Regions from separate parts of the Homo sapiens genome. Here region 1 is linked to region 2. The links are contacts of gene promoters, found by promoter capture Hi-C in blood cells and fetal thymus (Javierre and others, 2016). All regions are on one chromosome and are shown on one strand. The core of a region is centred on a gene start or on the middle of the fragment in contact, and the rest is flanking DNA. Distances in the headings are between cores, read along the strand shown.

The links. Contacts are between HindIII fragments. The CHiCAGO score rates a contact against its expected background, and 5 or more counts as called.
Region 1: a contact is called between a fragment that was not itself captured here and the fragment with the promoter of EGFR-AS1 in region 2, in 2 of 17 cell types (endothelial precursors and activated CD4 T cells). The highest score is 8.1, in endothelial precursors.

What each region holds. Positions count from the first base shown.
Region 1 is chr7:54,800,751-54,804,512 of GRCh38, reverse strand. All of the region lies in intron 2 of SEC61G-DT (SEC61G divergent transcript), which reads right to left. Among named protein-coding and RNA genes, the nearest start is that of SEC61G-DT, 43 kb to the right of the region's middle. The HindIII fragment of the contact is 1,680 bases long and covers 1,030-2,709 here.
Region 2 is chr7:55,187,291-55,191,022 of GRCh38, reverse strand. EGFR-AS1 (EGFR antisense RNA 1) reads left to right here and starts at 2,074. Exons shown (of 2, transcript NR_047551.1): 1 at 2,074-2,166. The region is part of intron 20 of EGFR (epidermal growth factor receptor); the gene reads right to left. The HindIII fragment of the contact is 13,947 bases long and covers 1-3,732 here.

The sequences.
Region 1 (3,762 bases), core at 620-3,119, 390 kb after region 2:
GGTTGTTTAGCTTGTGTGTGCCACACGTTGATACTCTGCCCAAACAACAGCTGTTTTAACTGAAGTGGAATATTCCACGCAACACTGATACAAAAACAAAATAACTCTTCGTTGTATATTTTCCTATGTGGAAAATATAGGCTTTGTCAATTCTATACATGCAGACAAAAATACAGAAAACGTAAAGCCTATTGCATAAATTGGAAAGCCTGTTTATGTTGTGATATATTGTTACATTCAAATTATATAGGGAGTTCGCTGGAAACGTTCATTGCTGAGACCACTTTGTTTCTGAAGAGACCATGTGTGTCCGGAGCTGGTTCCTGCTGGTGGGTTCATGGTCTCACTGACTTCAAAGAATGAAGCCGCAGACCTTCATGGTGAGTGTTACAGCTCTTAAAGATGGCACAGACCCAAGAACTGAGGGGTAGCAAGGTTTACTGTGAAGAACGAAAGGACAAAGCTTCTGCAACGTGGAAGCGTACCTGAGCAGGTTGCTGCTGCTGGCTGGGATGGCCAGCTTTTATTCCTTTATTATGCCCACCCATGTCCCGTTTCTGTCCTATCAGAGTGCCCTTTTTTCAATCCTCCCCACAATTGGCTACGTTTAGAATCCTGCTGATTCGTGCATTTGACAGAGCGCCAATTGGTGTGTTTTACAGAGCACTGATTAGTGTTTTACAGAGTGCTGATTGGTGCGTTTTACAATCCTCTTGTAAGACAGGAAAGTTCCCCAAGTCCCCACTGGACCCAGGAAGTCCAGCTGGCCTCACCTCTCACATGGACCTTGGCAAACCCTCAGTTGGGCGTAAGAGAGGCGATGGGTGTCTCAGGTTGGGCTCCACACCCAGGGTTATCCTGGAGGCAGCTCCTGGGGGCTCAGAGCACCAATTGTTAAATGCACAGCAATTCTATGAGGAAGCTGCTAAACTGTTTATAGCTTGAAATCAGCTATGGCAGGAATCTTTACACAACAAAAGTCAGCAAATGCCGCAAATCAGGGTTGTTGTTGTTTAAATTCAGAAAGCTTATTTACACCACTATGCCACCTTCCAGGCAGAAGAGTGTAAAAGGTGGAGAATTATTACAGGGTGATTGCACTGCTCAGAGGGGTAAGAGACGCTATCCAGAATGCAACAGCATACTGTACCAGGAACATTTTTACAAGCTGCCTGGTAACATGTTTCGGTCTCTGAATTTGGTTGGATTATTAAAGATTCACATCCTGCATGTTTTTATAATTATTATTTCAAATTACAGTAATAATTTCAGCCTAAGAATTAGCTAGCCAACGTTTGGTCTCCTGTATGTCAGAAAACCTTTCCATGACTGGTTACCATGCTTTCAAAGAACATCTAGTGGAGAGGCAGCAAAAAAAAGCAGGCCAGGAAATTGCTCACATGTATTAGAAGAGAAACTTGTCAGCAACCTTGTTGGAAGTCCTAGTCATCTTCCAACTAGTTCTGACTCAGCAAGCCGCTCAGGAGTGCACCCACCAAATGCAGGGGAAGGCCCAGGTAGGTAGTGAGGGAAGGTGCCAGCCTAGCGGGTAGCTCCTCAGCTTAGATTTGAATCAGTGAAAAACAGAAATATGCTCTCCTGACTCAGTCATACTGTGCTAAGGTAACAACCCAAGCGGCTAAGGAGCAAAGTGTGATTTTTCATGGAGAGAAAATATTGACACAAGAGCACGTGTAGGAATTTTCCATTTATCTCACAAATTATCCTGATCTAATTGACTCGGGCATCAAAAAGCCAGTGCTCTGAAGAAAGTTGCAGTCGATAACATAAGGGAGTGAATGAGATAGATTTGCAGACGTCAGAATGTCAAGAAGAATGCCAGGCCTGAAGACCCAGAAGAAGATGTACAATAATTATCTAAACAAGAGAGATGCATCTGAGACTTAGTGAGGGGCACAGGGTCCTTGAATTACGATCCAAGGGCAAATCCAAGAAGGGTTAACGTCGTCATTCAAGTAACTTTATTCCAGGCAGAAATTTCTACATACCAAGAAATGTCTGAGAGAATGGTCCAAACTTACTCGGGGTTGAGGGGGGCGGGGGCGGGTGGGGAAAGTAGTTGTTTTGTTTAGGTGCAAAGGAAAGACAGAGTAATAAACTGAAGCAAAACGTACAAGTGCAGGTGTGAACGAAAGGACTGGAGAAGACCCAGCCTGGAGCATGGCCCCGTGCCAGCCAGGAGCTGCTTGGGTCGGCGTTGCACTGCGTCTGATGAAGAATCTGACTTTGACTGCAAGTGCTGCCTCTTACCATAACCTTCCCTAACGCTGGCCTCTGATGGTTCTGATCTTTGCTGCCAGAGCTGCGCTGAGTTTTCTCTCTCTGCTTTTTAGATTTCCTTGAATATTTTAAAGAAAAAGTTAAAAAAAATAAGATGCTATATCCTGTTCTGAAACATTTTCAGGAAGTCCACTACAAATTGCATTTGTAAAGAAATAATAAGTGTATTCAAAGGACTAGGCATGGTTTTATATTCAGCCCACAGCCTAGCAGAGCCAATAAAACCAAAGTCAAGTCCCAGTTTCAGGTGGAGACCTCTCAAGTCATGACATCCCTTTTAATGATCTTAGGTTTATTTATATACAGGAGGTGGATGGAAAAATGGGGTTTTGTGGATATTACTATTTTTGTTCCATGAGGAAACAGTTTTATATATTCCTTGACTACCAAACAACTGGGCTAAAAGCTTGAAATTAGCAATCCTTGTCATAAAGACAGAAGGATACTACGCTGAAATGGAGGAGAGTTAGTATTTCATTAATTCAACAATTATGGAGCAACTGTTTTGAAACAGTCACACTGTCAGATATTAGAATATGTAAATCAATTAGACATATTTACCACTCTCGAGGGACTGAGGGACTGCTGAGGAAGACATGTGGAAAGGTTGTTACAATCCAGGTCAGTGAGATTTCATGTGAGTAATGCAGGTAATGATCACATGAAATGCGGAGTTACCGAATGCACATGAAGTTCTCATGTCGGAAGGCTAGCTTACTGATGTTCAGTGTCAGCTAGTCATCAGATGTGGAGAAAATCAACTGTGTACTAAGTCTAATTCATTCAGATGAAACATAATAGGAACTCTTTTTTTGTTTGTTTTTGTTTTTTGAGACAGAGTCTCGCTCTGTCGCCCAGGCTGGAGTGCAGTGGCGCGATCTCGGCCCACTACAACCTCCGCCTCCTGGATTCAAGCGATTCTCCTGTCTCAGCCTCCTGAGTAGCTGGGATTACAGGCACGCACCACCACACCTGGCTAATTTTTGTATTTTTAGTAGAGACGGGCTTTCACCATGTTGGTCAGGCTGGTCTTGATCTGCTGACCTTATGATCCGCCTACCTCAGCCTCCCAAAGTGCTGGGATTACAGGCGTGAGACACTGCACCCAGCAAAAGGAACTCTTAAAAGTTCATTAACAAAAAGCATCATGGAAATGCAGAGGGGAACCTCATGTGGTCTATAGAATTCGGAAGGGTGTCCTGAGGAAAATGATATTTTTGTTGTCAAAATAGGATTTGGCCAGAGAGGGAGGATAAAAAATTGTAAGGTGTTCAGAAATGGCACAGTGAGTGTGGGGACTATGGGCAGTTCGGTGTTGCTGGATCATGACGTGCAAGGCACAGCTGGCAATGGCAGACTGGAGAGGGAGGACCCTGTGTGTGCTGGTAGCATACTTGGATTTTTTTTTTTTTTTTTGAGATGGAGTTTCACTCTTGTTGCCCAGGCTGGAGTGCGATGGTG
Region 2 (3,732 bases), core at 825-3,324:
CCCTGACCCTGGCTGATCCTGACCCACGGCCTCTGGTGTCCTTGTCACATGCACCTTTCTCCCTGCTGGCTGCTGGGGTCACTGCTGACCCCTGCTCCTCCTTGCTTGACGGATGCCTACCTTGCTGAGCCCAACTGTCCCAGGCTTTGGCCTAAGAATGGCAGCCTGCATCTCTCTGCAAGGGCCAGGCTGGCAGGTGGGAGAGGCTGGGAGGGGTCAAGTTCTGCAGACTTCTTATTATTGTTTCTACCACACTCTCTTCTCTCTCCACCAAGAGGGTGGGCCACCTTTCTAGTTCCCTTTATGGCTGATGTTCATGTACTTTCTAGTACAGAGTGGGCACGACAGAAATGCTTGCTGCGGTGCAGCAAACAGAAACAAACAGGCATCTCTAGCCTGCTCCACTCTGCCGCTCCTGTATGGAGGGATCCCACTGTAGTGTGACTGCAGGGAAAAGCTGTAGATGTGGATGGATTCCCAAGTTTTCTGGCAAATTGTTTTTTTTTTGCATGAATATTATGTGAAAATGATTTGTTGAATTGGCATGTCAGAGCAAAATTAAAATTTTTTCTTTCTCAGGCAAAACCAGTCATCATAAGAACCTAGGGTCTCGCAAAGATGCTATGCAGAATTAGTCTTTGGGCGCCGTTTGTGAGGCCTTTAATGTTTTTCTCTTTTGGAAAAGAGACGCTTGCCTGACACCCACGTCTCATGACTACATGGACTGTCCCCTCACCCTGCACTGCCGAGAGCGCTCCTACGGGTTTCCGATGCTGCTGGACGTTAGTGCTTCCCTGCCTACTTAAGAGGAAATGAGCAGGTTCTTCTCTGGACAACACTTCCAGATTAGGAAGTATTATGTCAGGATGGTGGGTGGAAAGGGAGAGGAGAGGGGGGGCAGAAGCCGAGGAAGCGCTTCCCAAAAGAGGACTGGCCCAGACTCCCTGCTACTCTGGCAGCCTGGGTCTCCTTCAGAGGCAAGCTCCCTGCCCCCGCTGTCTGCCTCGTTTGACTCCTGCGATGCTGACTTGCTCTCTGCCTGGTACCCTGTCTCTTACAGAGCAAGGCCTCTGTTTATTAAATATCATGAACTCCTGCCCATTCGAAAGGGAGAGTTAGGCTCAGCCTCTTGCTGGTTCAACTGAGTGTCTACCTTCTTGGCTGTGTGAACTCCCAGGCTATCTCCTCTTCTCTCTTCTCTGTCCCTTGATTTCTCACCCTCACCCTTGCTTTCTCCTTTCTTTCTACCCTGTTCGTTCTTCACATTTGTACCTTTTGTTCGTTCTTCACATTTGTTGAAGGCGTCCTCTGTGGTAGCTGTTGAGCAGGAGTGGCACAGGCCTACAGTAAAGAGCCACACACAAGTCCCCATGCAGAGGACCAGGAACCTCTCCCTTTCTCCCTCTCTATTTAAAATGCGTGGTTTCTACATATTCATTAAGCCCACAAGGAGGCCCTCAGAGCACATTCCCAGCTTCGTTTCACCACCACTGCTAACTTTCATTCTGCCTCTTTAAATGCTTAGCGGAGATTTTGGTATACTGGGCACATTTTTAAAACGGCCTGTTGAAGAATGAACAACTGAATGAATGAATGATTGAATGACTGGTGATAGCAGCTGACAGTGCTGAGCACTGGCGATGTGCCAGCCCTTTCACACACGTCCGTGCAGACACCTTTTCTATCCCAGTCCCCACACGACCACCTCGTTAGATGACCTGGGGTCCAGAGACTGAAGCATGTGGCTGCACAGACCAAATACCCTGAGACCCCAAGACCACTACTGGGACCATGGCTTTAATTGCCCTGCTGGGAAATGCACCTGCTAAGCCAGAGGCTGCTTGGGGTTTTATATATATGCATATGTGTGTATATATATATATGTATATGTGTATATATATATACACACACACACACACACACATTATGTGTGAGAGCATGAGACAGCGTGAGCATGCACCTTGGTCCCGTGCCTCTGGGGAAGTCCGCGTCACTCTGTCAATCTAACAAATCCAGCTGACCTCTGGCCCAGCCCTTCCCCACTCCTCACACCAGGGCTTTAAAGGACCTGAGCCATTTCTACACAGTGTCTGTTTCCTCAGAACACCGGTCTTCACCAAAGGCGTGGGAAAGGGCAGAGAGCACAGGACATATTCTGGAATTCAGGTAATCAGTTGGAGGGTTTTAAGTCAGAGACAGCTTTGGGACAAGGAGAGAATCCCATGTGAACTTAGAGGAGACTTGACGCATGGGTCTCCGTCCCACTGCCGGCACATTTGAAAGGACAACTCTGTGCCTGGCGCAGTTATGCTTTAACTGGTCCCCAAAGATAAGAGCTGCGATACGGCCTGTGAGCTCCCAGGGTCCGAGCAGAGGTCGCAGGAAGAAATATCAACAAAGCCTCAGCGGGGCCTCTCAGGAAACTCAGTTCCTGCTTCTTCTCCGAGACCCTCACTTTAATTGAAATTAAAATATTTATTTTTGTTAATTACTACAGGAAAACTGGAATGAATTTTGAAATACAGCACTGAGGTTAAAAGGGGATTTGAAAAGCCAGCCTGGAACTTCCACTTACAAAAAAGAAGGCTCTGCTCCACATGGCTGTCGGGGCTTATTCTGGCAGGGTACCCCAGAGTGAGGGGCGGGGGCTGTGTTTGACCTTGAAGGGCTGGGTGTTCCCAGGGGCTGCCGCACCCCACGAGTCTTGGGAGGAGTTCAGAGTGAGAGGCGGGAACTGGATTGTTTGTGTTCTATTTTGTAAATCTCCTGTGGAAGAGCTCATGGAGCAGTGACTTAGGAAGGAAGTGGAGGAGGGGAGGACGAGAAGGCCGCGTGGTTCTGGTGGAGTGGAGGGCTTTCCTATCAACACTATTCTGTTGTTGCTGTTGTTCAGAAGTATTTATTTAAAGCAAGATCAGAAAGAGGCTTAAGGTTCATCATCTTCAAAATAACCCACCTCTACCAGAACCATGCTGAGACCAAGACCACCATCACCCTTCCCCTGGGGGCTGGGGCTCACCTCTCACCTCCACTTTGGGCTGGTCCTGAGGCAGGCAAGGCCAGACACTCTTGGCCACAGCTAGGGAGAAGGTGAGGGGCCCCGCAGGGCTTTCTCAGGCCTCATCTTCCAGGATCCCCCTGTACAAATGATGGTGTTCTCCCCTCAACCTTTTAGCCCTTGGGGTGCTGGTGGGGAGGGCAGCCCCACCCCAGAGACCCACCTGCAACTGGTAGAGGTAAGGGATGGGGTTCAGGGGGGCTCTGAAACTACGGATCTGATGAAGTTTTTAAGCAGAGTGGTCACCAGGAGAAGCCTCCGCTCCTGTCTCTGGACTCCAGATCTCAGAGCATCTGTGGCCTTGAGCTCCCTAAAAAATGGAAGAGTCTGTTCCTCAGGCCAGCTTGCCACCTTCCCAGGCAGGCATAGAGTAAGTGCTAGACCTCGGAAGAGGCAGGAAAGTGTCAGAATGTCCTATTCCTAGACAGAAGTGGTGCAGCACGGGCACCCTGCTGCTCAGGGAGGGAGGGCTGCTGGGACCCCTGTCCTGAGAGTCATGCTCTGAGCTGGGGCATCCATGCAGGCTGAGAGGCTGCACCATGGAACCAGGCCACCTGGATCAAATCCTGAGATCTTGGCAAGTGACGTAAACACCGCATGCCTTTGTTTCCCCATATGTAGAATGGATTAATCAGAGGGTGGAATGAGTTTATGTAGAGATAGCACCCATGGAG